Linked DNA regions of Homo sapiens: region 1 is linked to region 2. Evidence: promoter capture Hi-C in 16 types of primary human blood cells and fetal thymus (Javierre and others, 2016). All regions are on one chromosome and are shown on one strand. Each heading gives the region's core, a stretch centred on a gene start or on the middle of the fragment in contact. The rest is flanking DNA. Distances are from core to core; before and after follow the strand shown. Region 1 holds the start of TYW5 (tRNA-yW synthesizing protein 5). Region 2 holds the start of CFLAR (CASP8 and FADD like apoptosis regulator).

Region 1 (3,904 bases), core at 691-3,190, 1.2 Mb after region 2:
TGACTTCTATTGTGGTTTTTTTGTTTGTTTTTGTTTTTTGAGACGGAGTCTCGCTCTGTCACCCAGGCTGGAGTGCAGTGGCGCAATCTTGGTTCACTGCAACCTCCACCTCCCGGGTTCATGCAATTCTCCTGCCTCAGCCTCCAGAGTAGGTGGGACTACAGGGGCTCGCCACGCCTAATTTTTGTATTTTTAGAAGAGACACTGTTTCACCATATTGGCCAGGCTGGTCTCGAACTCCTGACCTTGTGATCCACCTGCCTCGGCCTCCCAAAGTACTGGGATTACAGGCGTGAGCCGCCATGCCTGGCCGACTTCTATTGTTATCAGCAGTTCTGCAATGTTTGGGAACGATACAATCTGTAAAGGAGTCCAAAAAAAAAAAAAAAAAGCATGTACCCACAAAATCTACAAATAATCTCAGGACCCAAGTGACCATATGTCACAAGGGTAAGGCAAGGTATAATCAGCCATTCAGAAACAGGTACGTAACTAACAAAGTCAGGGATAAGAATCTCTAAAGGCTAAATATTTTCTGTGTGCAGGGTGCTGTGCACTTAGCCACCAGGCAGTCTCAGCAAATCCTTTGAAAGGGTAAAATTGCTCATCTCCAGTTTAATCTTTACGGAGTATGGGGTGGTGTATTGGTCGGCTCTGTCTAATAGCTGGCAGGAAGTTCTGCTCTTCTACCCAAGGTGACATTACAGCACTTTGGAAATGTTATCTCAATTATTCTTCAATCTTACCCATTTATTAATGTATTCAGCAAACATTCATGGAGTGCCTACTATGTGCCAGGCATTGTCTTGCCCACTTTGTAAATTTGAAAATTATGTTCAGACAAGATGAGCCATATAGCTTTTTCTTTCTGAGACAGGGCCTGGCTCTGTATCCCAGGCTGGAGTGCAATGGCACGATCACAGCTCACTACAACGTCCAACTCCTGGGTTCAAGCGATCCTCCCCTTCAGCCTCCCAAGTAGCTGAGACTACAGGCGTGTACCACCATTCCCGGCCCAGAAGCTTACTTTAAGTCAAGCAATGGCTGGAAGGCTCTATGTCTGGGCCACTAATCACGTTTGATCACTTGTATCCCAGTGAAGAAAACTCACTGCTAAGCACTTCTGCGAGCAATAGTTGAACTCATTAGAGACGGATAGGTCAATCAGGGAAATAAACAAACCTGCTTCGCTCCCTCGGAGAACTCTGTGATGCTGAACTCTTTGTCGAAATAGGCCCAGATAAGGAAGGCCTTAATTCGAGTCCTAACCCAGTTGATGGGGTTGGAGAATCCCAGGACGATCATCTTGGTTTTCTGGTGCTGCTGGGGCTTCTCCTCCGTGCTGTAGCTGCGCTGAGGGCAGGCAGGGAAAGAAGCGAAGGCTGCGGGGAGTCCCGGGCTGCTGAGCACTGGCCACCGGGAGCCCTGGGCAGGTAGCGCCGAGGCTGCCAAGGCCCTAGCGCTTCGTGGAAATAACGCCGCTCCCAAGCCGAGGCGACAGCGGCAGAAGTAGCAAAGTGTGGCCGACGGCAGCCTCACCTCGGCCACAGCAGGAGTCCGGAGTCGGACGGCCCCGCAGGGCAGCGACCGAGAGTGCAGGAACTGGGGTAGCAAACGAGCGGCCAGCGCCATTTTTATGACCCTTCACACCGGTGCCTGCCGGTGCTGTATGGAAAGGAAGTCGGTGGGAAACCGCCTCAGCGGTGTCGGAGAAAGAGACTGGAGAGCAAAGTGGACCTGTTGCTGCAGCCTCTGGTGAGTCGGCCCCGTCCCCGCTCTCCAGCACGCAGCCCAGGCCGAGGCCCTTCGGCAACCCGCCCCGCGCTCGGACCCAGCCACTCTGGAGTCTGCCGGCCTCGCGGACCTTTTCTCTGTCGCTCGTGTTTCCGGGCGGATGGCGCTGAGGAACGCTTTAGAGCCGAAGTTCCGAAGACCTGGAAGAGGGCAGGCGTGAGCAACCATGGCCGGGCAGCACCTCCCGGTACCCCGGCTGGAGGGCGTTTCTCGGGAGCAGTTCATGCAGCACCTCTACCCACAGGTGAGGCCCTCGCGCGGGGCAGAACCTCGAGAAACCAGCGAGAGACACGTCTTTACCTTTCGGACAGCTGGGAACTGGTTTTTAGAGACCCAGGGTGTGGGAAAGAGGCGCAGGACGGCAGCAGATCACTGGTTGGCCCTTAGACCAAGGGAAAGGTGCACGGGGGACGCCGACTGGCTCCTCTATTGAAATTTCCGGAGAAAGTCCCATGTTTCTGGGGAGCAAGATGATGGCGGAGAGCTGAGTGCGAGAGGTATTTTGCCTAAACTCTTTACTCCGCATCTGTCAGTCTGCTCCGAATTAATGGATTTGAAGGCACAACTTTTCACTCCACTGAGCCAAAAAGGAAAGCAATGGGATTCCCCCGGAAAACTCCTACTCGTCTTGAATTCTAACTTACTTAGGTTCTAGTTCCGACATTGGAGTCTTTTATACCTGTAGTTAGAACCTTAGGTCTTTAAAAGAAAACTCATAGAGAAATATTAGGGAAACAAAAAGTGCTTTTACTTGCAGTGCTTTTCAAGGGAGTCCAGACCTAAGAAAAACAAGGTATTAAAAGGAAAAATCCACAGGATTACAGTAAGTCAGTTTATGGTAGGAAAAATACCCAGCAATTTTCTTACCTGATATTTACATTTATAAGGGTGGTCATAGAATTACAGTTCTGGGGCCGGGCGCGGTGGCTCACGCCTGTAATCCCAGCACTTTGCGAGGCCGAGGCGGACGGATCACCGGAGGTCAGGAGTTCAAGACCAGCCAGTAGAAATCCCATCTCTACTAAAAATACAAAATTAGCCGGGCATGGTGGTGGCCCATACCTGTAATCCCAGCTACTCGGGAGGCTGAGGCAGGAGAATCGCTTGAACCCGGGAGGCGGAGGTTGCAGTGAGCCGAGATCGCGCCACTGCACTCCAGCCTGGGCAACAAGAGCTAAACTCGGTCTCAAACAAACAAACAAAACTACAATTCTGAGTGTTACAAAAGTCGGATGGGCTGGGCGCCGTGGTTCATGCCAGTAATCCTAACATTTTGGGAGGCCCAGGTCGGTGGATCACTTGAGGTCAGGAGTTCAAGACCAGCCTGGCCAATATGGTGAATCCCCGTCTGTACAAAAAATACAAAAATTAGCCGGGCGTGGTGGCGCACGCCTGTATTCCCAGCTACTCTGGAGGCTGAGGTCGGAGGATCTGCTTGAGCCCGGGAGGTCGAGGCTGCAGTGATCCATGATCCTGCCACTGCTCCAGCATGGGCGAGAGGGTGAGACCCTAGCTTAAAAAAAAAAAAGGCGGGGTTGGGGGGATGCGGGAGGAATGAAGTTTTTCTTTTGATAGCAACCTACGGGAGAGGATTCAAGCCTTTATTAGTTTGGAGACTTGTACTAGATGGGTTGTTCTTGCTCTCCCTGTCCTTAGACACCCCCTATCTCAGAATGTGCTAGACGTAAGTTGCCTAAAGGGCAGTGTTGTGAAGATTAGGGTATGTGGAAGTGCTTTGTAAGAGTCATAGCAAAAGGTATTTTGTAATTTAATCTCTTCAGACAAGACATACAGCACAAAGCATCATTACATTTTAAAAAGTCGAAAATTACAAACAACTTTCTCTGGCCATGGGCAGTAAAACTAGAAATTAATAACAAAATTGGAAAAAAAGACCTTTCTATCTGGAAACACTAAAAAGTATGAGGGGGCATAGTGCTATGAGTTTTTTGTTAAACATTTTCTAATAACTCCATAATTAACACTGTATATTGTACAGGTACATGAATAGATAGACCAAGGGAATAGAATAGAAAGTGCAGAAATACCTATTCCTATGGAAATTTAGTGTATAATAAGCATGACATTTCAAAAATCAATAAGGCACAAA
Region 2 (3,868 bases), core at 979-3,478:
CCAGCCCAAGGCTCAAAAAACTGCACACTATCCGGCCCACCCCGGGTCGCGCAAGACTTTCGGGGGGAGGGGGAAACCCAGCGACCCTGCAAATGGCTTCACCTTGGAAACCGGTATAAGGAAGCAAGTAATACCGTGTTAAAAGAAGGTCAAATGTCAGTTACAAACAGAAACGTAAAACATAAAGTCGCTAGAGAAAGCCATTTTAACGAGGACATTTGACCCAAAAGCTTAAGTAAAGCAAGTATTAACAAAACAAGAAAATGGATGTAAAGCAAACAGTAAACATTAAAAACTCCCTTTCAACCCAGTCTTTTTTGTTTAGATCTTGGAGTTGGGCCGGGCATGGTGGCTCACGCCTGTAATCCCAGCACTTTGGGATGCCGAGGCGGGCGGATCACCTAAGGTCAGGAGTTCGAGACCAGACTGACCAACATGGAGAAACCCCGTCTCTATTAAAAATACAAAACTAGCCGGGCATGGTGGTGCATGCCTGTAATCTCAGCTACTTGAGAGGCTGAGGCACGAGAATCGCTTGAACCCGACAGGCGGAGGTTGCGGTGAGCAGAGATAGTGCCATTGCATTCCAGCCTGGGCAACAAGAGTGAAATGCTGTCTCAAAAAAAAAAAAAAAAAAAAAAGATCTTGGAGCTCCAGCCAGGTTTTTTGTTCAACGAAACTTTTGTAAGGTTATTTAGGGGAATCACCAAACCGAAAAGTGCCAAAAACTCCGTTCCTCTTATCGGAAATCTCTCTCTAAAGCAGGTCAAACCTTCCAGAGCCCGCTGTCTGTTGTAGATTATCGCAGTTTGTTGATGTCCAAAAAGCTTTACTTATGCTATACGCTATCCCCCTACTGGTTTCACCCCTCATTGCTTAAGAACAAATTTCAAATGTCAACCAATTAAAATATTCGCAAGACCTCTGGCGTCCTTGAATTTACTTCCTGCCCGTGGAGCCAAAAACTGATTCTGAATTTCAGTGGCCTTTGTTCTACTGCGTGCCACTGTTAATATTAAAAGAACATGGCCTTCTGTCCAAATCCAGACACCCTCAAGCAAGAACATCTTGAAGCCAGTTTACATTTCCCAGTCGTTTTGAGGCGGTGGAAAAGTGGCAGAAACAGGTTCATTTTAAAAGGCTCTAAAAACTTTTCATTAGCCAAGCATTCCCAGCTTTCCCAAGGCAAGCTTTCCTTGCACTTGGGCAAAATAGACATTAAACTGCTCTGGAAAATAACCGCCCTGACCAGGCTATTGTGAAATTCCCTCCAGGGCGGCGGCTCCCACTGAGTGAGATCGAGCGCATACACAATTGTTGGGAAAGTCCACGTTCCCAACAACTTTCGAAAGGAAAAATGCCAGATCTTCTCAACAGTTCACCCCAAGAATTGAACTCTCAAGATCATTTTAAGCAAAGTTTACACGACGCTGAGGGCCCGCCACTGAAGCTCGCGGGTGGGCCTCTGGGGCTGCGGCTGCAGGGGGCGGCCAGAGTTGGCCAAGGGTTACTTCCGGTCTCTCAGGTCCATCGGGGTGCAGCTTGTACCGCTGTGGCCCAGGTCGCCCCTTTCTGGGAATCCGGGGCGGAGTTGCGGGTAGAAGGGGTTCGGGGGTTCGGAGCCGGGCGGAAACGGAAGCGGGGGCATTCCGCAAAGCCCGCGGTAAACAACCGAGATAAGGAACCTACAAAACTGAGTCAGGTTCCAGAAGCGCCCCCGCCATCCCCTGGCCACTGCCGGCCACCTGCAGTTTCCCGGAGCGCAGGGCTGTGAGGAGCGGCGCGGGGTGGGACGCGGGGCGCGGCGGCGCAGGGCCTGCTGCAATGCTGACTCAGGGCCGGGCGTCGGGGCTTGGGGTCTGGGACAGCTCCGGCGCCGCCAGCGCGGGGGTCGAGCGCGGGGCACGTACCGTCCTGTCGCGGCCGGACTCTCCTGCCGCTGCCACCTCAGCCTTCGCTCCCCTAGACGCCGGGAAGGCGCACCCAAGATGGAGGCAAAGAAACCGAAAGCCTGGAAGCGGACTTGGTGCTGGGCGATCGCTGTTCGCGGCGCTTCTCTCCTACACCTCCTCCCGTGGTCCTTGTTGTCTCAGCTGTCACTGGACAAAAGTCCAATAGCCGGCACTCACTGTGTGAGGCCGAGTCCCCACCCCTAGCTCCGGGAGTCCCTTTTAGTTGAGACTCGTCGGTGAGGCTGCAAGCTCGCTGTTTCCTGCTATGGCTTGTGTGACTGAGTATGCAGTAACCGGGGGTGGATGTCGACACAAGTTCCACGCGTTAGGAGTAAACACTGCGAGTGTTTTTTTTTTTCTTTCTTTCTTTCCTTCTTTTTTGAGACAGAGTCTCGCTCTGTGGCCCAGGCTGGAGTGCAGTGGCGCAATTTCAGCTCACTGCAACCTCCGCCTTCCTAGTTCAAGCGATTCTCTTGCCTCAGCCTCCCGAGTAGCTGGGACTACAGGCACGCGCCAGCACGCCCGCCTAATTTTTGTGTTTAGTAGAGACGGGGTTTCACTGTTGGCCAGAATGGTCTCGAACTCTTGACCTCGTGATCCGCCCGCCTCGGCCTCCCAAAGTGCTGGGATTACAGGCGTGAGCCACCACGCCCGGCGCGAGTGTTTACAATTGTTGTCTGGGAGTCATAGCAAACGTGAACACACTTTGTGGTTTTTTGTGTGTATGTTTTTGTTTGTTTTTTTTTGTTTTCCTTCTTGAGACAGGGTCTCGCGCTGTCGCCCAGGCTAGAAGGCAGTGGCGCCATCACAGCTCACTGCAGCCTGGATTTCCCGCTCTCAAACCATCCAGCCCTCAGCCTCCCAAGTAGCGGGGACCACAGGTGCAAGCCACCATGCCCGACTAATTTTTTTTTTTTTTTGTATTTTTAGTAGAGATGGGGTTTCACCATGTTGGCAAGGCTGGTCTCCAACTGCTGGCCTCAAGTGATCCTTGCCCGCCTCGGCCTCCCAAAGTGCTGGGATCACAGGCGTGAGCCACCGCGCCCCTCTACGTTTTTATTTATTCCTAATAACTACTTTATTGTGATTCTTAAAGAGCTTTAACTTTTCTTGAGATAATTTTAAACTCACAGGAAAGGTGAAGAATAATACCAAGAGAGACTAACAGCAGGACGGCATGAAGAGCTCGGGATTCACCCCTAGTGAAACTGAAAATTATTTAAAACAACAAACAACCATTAACCATTTAAAGCCTTTGAAATGGTCCTAAGGGCAAACAGCAAATGAAGAAACATCTGTTCCAAAAAATCTATGAAAACTCTTGGATCAGAATGTGAGAGTCAGTCTGTGGTATTTAAACCAAACCTCTCCCTTTGTTCAGCAAGAGACTCCACTCCAGACTGCTGCAACTCAGAACCTCTCTCTTCCCACAGCTCCCAGTCAGAGACCAGCATATCAGCATTTCTCATCTTGCCCCTAGCTACCTGATGCTGAAGGTAAATCCTGGGGGAGTGTGGTGGAGAGGTGGGAGATTCCTTCTTCCATCCAGAGGCTCTACCTTGGGTGGAGTGCTGAGACACCAGAGGAGACTTCAGCTCTTTTTCTCCATCACTTTCACCCCATATTCACCCCCAACCTTTTTTTTTAATCTCTCCATCTTCCCAAGATAGTTATATTCTGTTTGATTAATCTTCAGTATATATGCTATTATAATCATGTAAACGGTAGTCACAGCCAAGTTATGTACCAAACTATGATTACTTTTCCTTTCCCACACAACTTTTAGTTTTTTCTGGAGTTAATAATTGTCTTGTTTTGTTGGTTTTTCCATGTAATTCTATCCTAAACTCTGTCAGTTATCCAAGTTTGGTTTTTTGTTTGTTTTTGAGACAGGGTCTCACTCCAGGCTGGAGTGC

What was found. Contacts are between HindIII fragments. The CHiCAGO score rates a contact against its expected background, and 5 or more counts as called.
Region 1: the fragment with the promoter of TYW5 here is called in contact with the fragment with the promoter of CFLAR in region 2 in 1 of 17 cell types (fetal thymus); the score reaches 6.8 in fetal thymus.

What each region holds. Positions count from the first base shown.
Region 1 is chr2:199,953,527-199,957,430 of GRCh38, reverse strand. It overlaps TYW5 (tRNA-yW synthesizing protein 5), which reads left to right and starts at 1,940. Exons shown (of 8, transcript NM_001039693.3): 1 at 1,940-2,038. The coding sequence starts at 1,961. It overlaps MAIP1 (matrix AAA peptidase interacting protein 1), which reads right to left and starts at 1,849. Exons shown (of 5, transcript NM_001394955.1): 1 at 1,183-1,849. The coding sequence starts at 1,632. RefSeq lists enhancers at 1,417-1,516, 1,537-1,696, 1,867-1,986, 1,097-2,296. The HindIII fragment of the contact is 7,808 bases long and covers 1,025-3,904 here.
Region 2 is chr2:201,114,524-201,118,391 of GRCh38, reverse strand. CFLAR (CASP8 and FADD like apoptosis regulator) reads right to left here and starts at 2,228. Exons shown (of 10, transcript NM_003879.7): 1 at 1,911-2,228. LOC105373836 (a long non-coding RNA gene) reads left to right here and starts at 1,708. Exons shown (of 3, transcript XR_923785.3): 1 at 1,708-3,448. RefSeq lists enhancers at 293-342, 1,983-2,242 and a silencer at 1,743-1,952. The HindIII fragment of the contact is 6,122 bases long and covers 1,193-3,868 here.